2 separate regions of the Homo sapiens genome follow, and region 1 is linked to region 2. The links are contacts of gene promoters, found by promoter capture Hi-C in human tissues and cell types (Jung and others, 2019). All regions are on one chromosome and are shown on one strand. Each heading gives the region's core, a stretch centred on a gene start or on the middle of the fragment in contact. The rest is flanking DNA. Distances are from core to core; before and after follow the strand shown. Region 1 has its middle 34 kb from the start of PTCHD3. Region 2 holds the start of ACBD5 (acyl-CoA binding domain containing 5).

The links. Contacts are between HindIII fragments. The study calls those that stand out against the background at their distance.
Region 1: a fragment that was not itself captured here is called in contact with the fragment with the promoter of ACBD5 in region 2 in 1 of the 25 tissues and cell types used here (H1 embryonic stem cells).

Annotation. Positions count from the first base shown.
Region 1 is chr10:27,378,116-27,382,223 of GRCh38, forward strand. It overlaps the pseudogene TRIAP1P1. Among named protein-coding and RNA genes, the nearest start is that of PTCHD3, 34 kb to the right of the region's middle. The HindIII fragment of the contact is 4,381 bases long and covers 1-3,527 here.
Region 2 is chr10:27,237,887-27,242,061 of GRCh38, forward strand. It overlaps ACBD5 (acyl-CoA binding domain containing 5), which reads right to left and starts at 2,911. Exons shown (of 13, transcript NM_145698.5): 1 at 2,788-2,911; 2 at 2,433-2,598. The coding sequence starts at 2,802. RefSeq lists enhancers at 1,963-2,465, 2,423-2,682, 4,133-4,175 and a silencer at 2,803-2,912. The HindIII fragment of the contact is 11,813 bases long and covers 1-4,175 here.

The sequences.
Region 1 (4,108 bases), core at 87-2,586, 140 kb after region 2:
CAAGGTGACCATCAAGGTCAAGAAGACTCTTCATACTTTTCTTCACCATGGCCCGTGAACTCAGTCCTTCAACAGAGATTCTCTCTGTTGTTGCTTTCTGAACACACTGCAGGTAATGCTTGAAGAGGTTGGAGCACGGCTCCCCAGAGCTGTCGCCCTTGAGAAGCTTCTCCACAAACCAACAACTGAAGCATTGATCATACGATTGAAGCTCCATGTGTGTGTGAGTCTGTACGACATTGTTCATGGCAATGGTGGTGGTGGTGGCAATGGCGGCATACTCTCTCATGTTAGGTGTTCTTACCATGAAAACAGCAATACTGAAGCAACAAAGGGACACAAAGAAACTTTTGGAGATGATGGATATACTTGTTACTTCGATTGTGGTGATGATCACATGAGTGTATACATATGTCCAAGCTCGCCATATTATATACATTAATTATGTGAAGTTTTTAATTTATTTAATTCCAACTTTTATTTATTTATTTATTGAGATGGAGTCTGCTCTGTCACCCAGGCTAGAGTGCAATGGTGCAATCTCTGCTCACTGCAACCTCCGCCTCCCGGGCTCAAGCAATTCTCCTGCCTCAGCCTCCCGAGTAGCTGGGATTACAGGCACCCACCACCATGCCCAGCTAATTTTTGTATTTTTAGTAGAGACAGGGTTTCATCATTTTGGCCAGGCTGGTTTCAAACTCCTGACCTCAAATGATCTGCCCACCTTGGCCTCCCAATTGCTGGGATTACAGGTGTGAGCCACTGTGCCCAGCCTCAACTTTTATTTATTTTTAACTTTTATTTTTGTTTCAGGGGGACACATGCAGGTTTGTTCTACAGATAAACTGCATGTTCTGGGGGTTTGGTGTACAGAGTATTTCATCACCCAGGTAATAAACACAGCATGAATGAAACTCAGTAAGTAGCTTTTCAATTTTCACCCTCCTCCCACCTCCACCCTCAAGTAGGCCCCGGTGTCTACTATTCCTTTCTTTGTGTCCATGTGTACTCGGTGTTTAGATGTGACTCACAAGTGAGAAGATGAGGTGTTTGGTTTTCTGTTCCTGAATTAGTTCCCTTAGGATAATGGCCTCTGGCTCCATCACATTGCTGCAAAGGACATGACCTTGTTCTTTTTTATGGCTGCATAGTATTCCATGGTGTGTATGTACCACATTTTCTTTATCCAATCTACTGTTGATGAGCATTTAGGTTGATTCCATGTCTTTGCTATTGTGAATAGTGCTGTGATGAACATATGTGTGCCTGAGTCTTTATGGTAGAACAATCTATATTCCTTTGGTTATACCCAATAATGGGATTCCTGGGTCAAATGGTAGTTCTAAATTCTTTGAGACATCACCAAACTACTTTCTGCAGTGGTTGAACTAATTTACACTCCTGTCAGCATTAGCTTTTCTCTGCAGCCTTGCCAGCATCTGTTATTTTTTGACTTTTTAATAATAACCATTCTGACTGGTGTGAGATGGTATCTCTTTGTGGTTTTGATTTGCATTTGTCTAATGATTAGTGATCTTGAACATTTTTTATGTGCTTTTTGGCCACATATATGTCTTCTCTTGAAAAGTGTCTGTTCATGTCCTTTCCTACATTGTAGTGGGGTTGTTCTTTGCTTGTTAATTTTCCATTTTTATTTTTGATACAAGGGGTATGTGTGCAGGTTTGTTACATAGGAATATTGTGTGTTGCTGAGGTTTAGGGTATGGATCCTGTCACCCAGGTAGTGAGCACAGTACCTGATAGGTAGTTTTTCCACCCACCTGCCCACCTCCCTCCACCCTCTAGTAGTCCAGTGTCTATTGTTACTGTGTTTATGTCTGTGTGTGCTCAATGCTTAGCCCCCACTTATATGTGAGAACATGTGGCATTTGGTTTTCTGTTCCTGTGTTAATTCGCTTAGGATTATAGCCTCCGACTCCATCCATGTTGCTGCAAAGGAAATTATTTCATTCTTTTTTATGGCTGCATAGTATTCCATGGTGTATATGTACCTATGTGCAGTTTTTAAAAAGCCGATTATATCTCAATAAAGCTGATGGGAGAAGTCACTTGGAGAGTATCTGCATTGGGGAATGTTAAAAAAAAAAAAACAAAAAAACCCAAACAACCACAGACGGGATTCACAGAGAAAGCCTGCCTTCACAGAGTGAGCAACAGCCATGTTATGGTAACAGCAGGAATTTCCAACTGTGTGTCGTCTCCCTCTGCCATAGCCTCTGGAGGAGCTGGCCACAGGATGAGGAAAGGAGTAATGGAAGAGTAAATTGGAGGGAAAAAATATAATGCAACTCTTAAAACCCTTAATATGTCACATTTATAGTTTAAAATAATAAACTCTGGCTTTAGGAGAGGAGCCTCCTACCTGTCAGAATAAATACCACATGCCAAAAAACAAAACAAAAGGTCAAAGTCCGTGTCTCTTAACCGTGAATAAGCAATGTATGTATTTTGCCATTTTGTCCTTAGGATTTGTTGCAGTATCCTAAATGTGGGTTGTTCCCTGATCTTTAGGAAATAAAATGGGGTCACTGTAGCAGTAGATACAGTCATTTCTTCCTTTATCTGTGGACACTGTCTCTGTATAAAGTGGCATTGGTCTGTGCAGATCTGTGGCTGGAGATAGCCAGGAGAGGTGACCAAAAGCGAGGAAAGTCCATATGACCATCCTTACATAGGTTGACTCTCTCGGATCTTCTTTAAAGACACAGATAGAGTTATCAGCTCTGCTCTTCTGAACACATAGATGTAAATACAGGCATCTCCAAGCTTCATTTGTAAGAGTATGTGCCCAACTGCTCCCAGCCTAGTTAAACCCAGAAGAAATGTGGTAAAGCAGTACGCAGTACAACGTATCCTGTGTTGATCTTGGATCTTACATACGCACCCCTTTGTGCTGCCAATCATCAGTGATCTGACGATTTCTTTCTTTGGTCAGTTGAGGATGACTTGGCTAAACTAAGGCAAATAGCCACTGTTGATTAGTAACTTTCAAAATTCACTGTTTCCTTCTAACCAGTGACAAAGGGGACAGAGCGAGAAAAACACACCATGTGATAAATAGAGCTTTACCCTAGTAAAAAACAATCTGCTGAACAGTATCTGGTCTCAAAACATGTTTACAAAAGTCAATTAATTGGGAGCAGAGTTCATAGGAAGGAAACAACGAAGCTATTTCTTAGAGGACAGACAAAACAGTATTTCTCAACATTCCTGAAAGTTAGCATTTCATTACGTTTCAGCAAGAAAATAAGAAAGGACAGTTGGGCTAGGGCTCATGTTGAAAATATTTGTGTGAGGATAAAATAAGCCATCAATTGGGTGGAAAGTCTGCAAATATTACTGAAAAGGGTATTAAAATCATAGATAATACTTATTCACTACTCATAGGTGAAGAAATTCTGTAATGTCCTAGTTTTATTCATTTTATTACTGAAAAATTGTTGGCAGTGGGCCTCAGTAAAGTGTTTCCTTTTAAATACCAGCCCCCAAAAAAGCTGTGAAATAAAAATAAGCTATTGTTTTTTTTTTAAGTTCCCATATTTCTGCCTCAGAAATACAGTGACTTTCATTTTAAACAATATTGATAATGGAGGAAATGAATGATATTTCTTGGTCAGCAATATGAAAAATTCATAATGCCTTGTCCCCTCTTTGACTCTTGAACTAGCAGTAGGAGTTTGCTTGCACATAATTTCCGTTAAAGTTGATGAAAGATACAGGTGCACTTTCAGAGGGAACAGTATCTGGTAGCCTGTTATTTGAATAACATTATAAAAGACTGCTCTTGAGGTGTAATCAGTGTAGGTAGAAGACAGAAGCTGAGAGCGCAAAACCTTGTGTTTGTTTACGTCGGTATATATTTGTATGATTTCATTTGTTGCCCAGTTCAGAGAAATAAAGCATTTATAGAGAAGACCATTATGAGACAAATAATTCAGTATAAAGAGAAAAACGGAAAATAAAACCTCAAAGTATTAATAAATTTGAGGGATGTAGTTTGCCATTGCAATCATCTGTGTTGTGAGGGGGTGTATGTGTTTGCATGTGTACGTGCATGCACGTATGTTTGTGTGTGTGTGAGTAATGG
Region 2 (4,175 bases), core at 1,661-4,160:
TTACAGGTGTGAGCCACCACGCCTGGCCTGATAGGGTATCTTTTTTTTTAAATTTAATTTAATTTAATTTTATTTTATTTTTTCGGAGACGGAGTCTGGCTCTGTCACCCAGGCTGGGGTGTGATCTAGGCTCACTGCAAGCTCCGCCTCCCGGGTTCACGCCATTCTCCTGCCTCAGCCTCCCGAGTAGGTGGGACTACAGGCGCCCACGACCACGCCTGGCTAATTTTTTGTATTTTTAGTAGAGACGGGGTTTCACCGTATTAGCCAGGATGGTCTCAATCTCCTGACCTTGTGATCCGCCAGCCCCGTGATCAGCCCGCCTCAGCATCAGCCTGCCTCGGCCTCCCACAGTGCTGGGATTACAGGCGTGAGCCACCGCACCCGGCCGATAGGGTATGTTAACTTTGCAATACTTTCTTAAATGTTATGTACATACAAACTGTACTTTATACAGGTTTCCTAATAAGTGGTACATAATGTCAACAGGCATAGTGGCCTAGAGACATCAGTCTAGCTTTACCAATTTTCAAAAAACTATAAAAACGTGTGCTTTAGAAGAAAGTATAAACATACTACTTACATAAAACTCTTAGAATCATACCTTTCTATAAACACTAATAATTAGGGACTTAAAAAATCAATACCTAAATAAGTTCATGCTTTTTTTTATATTTTATTTGTTCTTTCTTATCTTTCAGTCCCCCATATGCCCTCCTCCAATAGAATGTTTGAAATTACAAAAGGTTCAGACAACACCATAGAAGGAAAGAAATTACAAATGGAACACTATTTTGTGTATATTTGTTTTTAAAAATTTCTGAATCTGCATTTAATGAATTTTTATTGAATGATGTGTTGAATATTTGTTACCTATAATTATTGAAATTATTGATAATTAATGATAATTAATGAAAACAGAAATCATGATATTAAATACTATAGTAACATATTATTGTTGTATTCAGTTAGTTTTACAACTGTGGCACAGTAGTAGCACCTATAATTACTTTCTAAATATGTTTATTGGGCCGGGCGCGGTGGCTCATGCCTGTAATCCCAGCACTTTGGGTGGCCCAGGAGGGCAGATCACCTGAGGTCGGGAGTTCAATACCAGCCTGACCAACATGGAGAAACCCCGTCTCTACTAAAAATACAAAATTAGCCGGGCATGGTGACGCACGGGTGTAATCCCAGCTGCTGGGTAAGCTGAGGCAGAAGAATCGCTTGAACCTGGGAGGTGGGGGTTGAGGTGAGCTGAGATTGTACCATTGCACTTCAGCCTGGGCAACAAGAGCGGAACTCCATCTCTAAAGAAATAAATATGTTTATTGTGAAATATAATTCATATAATGTAGAAAGATATGAATTGAAAAGTACGTCTTGCTTCTAAGACTCTGCATTTAGAACAGAGAAAAATATTTAATGGCCAAAAACTTCACATTGGTCTATGACATAAAATTACAAATTCAAAAAGCTCTGCAAATCGTGAACAGGGTTAATATGAAGAAAAACCACATCTACTAGTCAAATTGCTGAAAACCGAAGATAGAAAAGAAATCTAAAAAGCAGCCAGAGAAATAGCACATTAAATACAAGAAGGAGATCAGCCACTGGAATGACTTTTTTCTCACCAGCTGCAAAGAAGGTCCAATATGAGTATAAAAAAGAACATTATACAATGGAATAGCAAATAAAAAGGTAGAAAATATATATTTATTAAAATAGAAATTACTTCACAATTGACTATAGTTATTCTTTCTTTTCTGTCCCTTCATATCAAAAGTTTTCAAAACGCTTAAGCTGGTAGACCCTATGAGTGTGTGGCATTAGGCATCCCCAGCCTAGATTTTTGTTTGTTTGTTTGTTTGTTTGTTTGAGATGGAGTCTGGCTCTGTCGCCCAGGCTGGAGTGCAGTGGCACGATATCGGGTCACTGCAACCTCTGCCTCCCGGGTTCAAGCAATTTCCCTGTCTCAGCCTCCCGAGTAGCTGGGACTACAGGCGCACGCCACGAAGCCTGGCTAATTTTCGTATTTTTTAGTAGAGACGGGGTTTCACCATATTGGTCAGGCTGGTCTTGAACTCCTGACCTCAGGTGATCCATCCACCTCGGCCTCCCAAAGTGTTGGGATTACAGGCTTGAGCCACCGCGCCCGGCCCGGATTTATTTTTTAACACACCCAAATCCGCAGTCATTAAGTGACAAGACTTTTGTTTTCAACAATATGAAGTACTTAAAATCTGGATATTAGATTTTTCTCCGGTTTGGAAGATCAAAAGGTAATTAATTCATATTCAATAGCTCCCCTTCCACTACATGGCTCCTACACAGAAAAAAAGGCTAAATAAACAACACTAGAACCAGAAAGTGAAAGGGGGCTTTGGGGCTCTCTGCAGGAGGCGTCTACAGCCGGGGCCCAGCGCACGTACCATTCTTCGGCAAACTCTGGATCACCTTCACGGCCGCCTCAAACCTAGTCTCGTGCACGGATCTCGTGTCCGCCATCTCCAGCTGCCAGTGTTGGCCCCGGTCCCAAGGTCTGTCGGCGGGAATCAGGCAGCAGCAGCACCAGCTTTCCCAAGAGCCTGCATGAAACTGGAACATGGAGCGCAGCCGCGGATCAACATGCCCCAAAAGGAGGAGGCCCGGGAGCGAAGCGGGTCAGTTCCCCTTTGCCCTGCCCTATCCAGGCCACACAGATCGAAGCGGCCCGGCTCCTTCCTCCTCCCCCGGGGCGTGACTAAGGCCACGAATCCGGCCCGCGACGACAGCAAAACAACTCACCGAGAGGAAGAGCATGTCTAGCAGAAGACAGAGGGGGTCCGGGCATCGGTGGCCGCGGAGCCGCTCTCCCACCCTGGGGACCCTGGCGGAGCAGCCACACCCCCCATTCCGCCGGAGTCCGTCTGTCAGTCCGTGCCCTCCCCACAGCCCCGCCCCAGAGTCACCGGAGGACCCACTGGCGCCGCCGCCGCCGCAGCAGCAGTGCAGCAAACCCCACCCACCCGACCCGCCGCCGCGGCAAGGACGCGCGCGGTCCGTCTGTCCCCAGAGGAGGGTCCGGGAAGCGGGGAAAGGGGGCCACAGTCCCGGCTTGGTGCGGGGAGCACACTGTGCGCGCTTTTGTTCAGAAGGGGGAAACCGAGGCCGGACCGATGTGTCCGCTCTGGCAGCCGGGTGGACGAAGTGCGCGCTGGGGATGCGCGGTTGGGTTCTGCACCTGGGCCCAAAGCTGCACGCGACGGCACCGCTGGGCAACAAAAATGACTCTGCGGTCCCCAGCGCCTGCACTCTCCTAAGTTAAGGTTTGAGGAAGTTAAATGGGGCCTAAGCAAAGGGCTTTAAGTCGGGACAGGTTCTGTGAGAAACTCCAGTTCTGCCATTTAAATTATGTGACCTAGGGCAAGTCACTTAGCCTTTCCAGTGGCAATCGTGACACCCACTCTAAAGGGTAGATGGAGAAAAGCATTGGGGACCTTGGATGGAGGTGCTCAGCAGTCCCTGGCCCGCAGGTCTTCGACAGTTTTCGCTGCCCTGAGCCAAGAACGTCCGAGGAGCAGCCGAAGGAGAGAGGAGGTCGCCGGCTCCTAAACTGGGCTGGGACGGAGGGCAACTTCCCCTACACTACCCTTTCCACCCAGCCCCAGGGAGCCAGGCACCTCCAGCGGGATTTAATAGGAGACTGGGCATGGGGACGGCCGGGCACAGTGGCTCACGCCTGTAATCTCGATACTTTGAGAGGTCGAGTGGGGAGGATTGCTTGAGGCCAGGAGTTCAAGACGAGCCTGGCAACATGGCGATACCCTGGCTCTATTTAAGAAACCAATAATTAAAAAAAAAAATAAAAATAGGATACTGGGCGTAGAGGGCGGGGCCAATGAGGAGTCTTTACGGGTCGTCAACCCTAGAAAGGGGGTGCCCTGGGCCTTCAACTTACTAGCGCAACCCCCTGCGTCCTTAGGCATTTGGGAAGTGCCCCAGGCCGAACGTTGGTGGTGGGACTGACTAGGTTGTGGGGGGTGGAGTCCTGTAGCCCGGAAATCCCAAAGTCTCCCGGATGGAAGAGTCGTTTTTGTCAGTTAGGGGGATGGGTTAGGAGGGTTACTAGGAAAAATCTAGGCGCAGATCGTAAGTTACTCTTCCCTCTGAGCCGCGGCGCCGGCATTTACCTT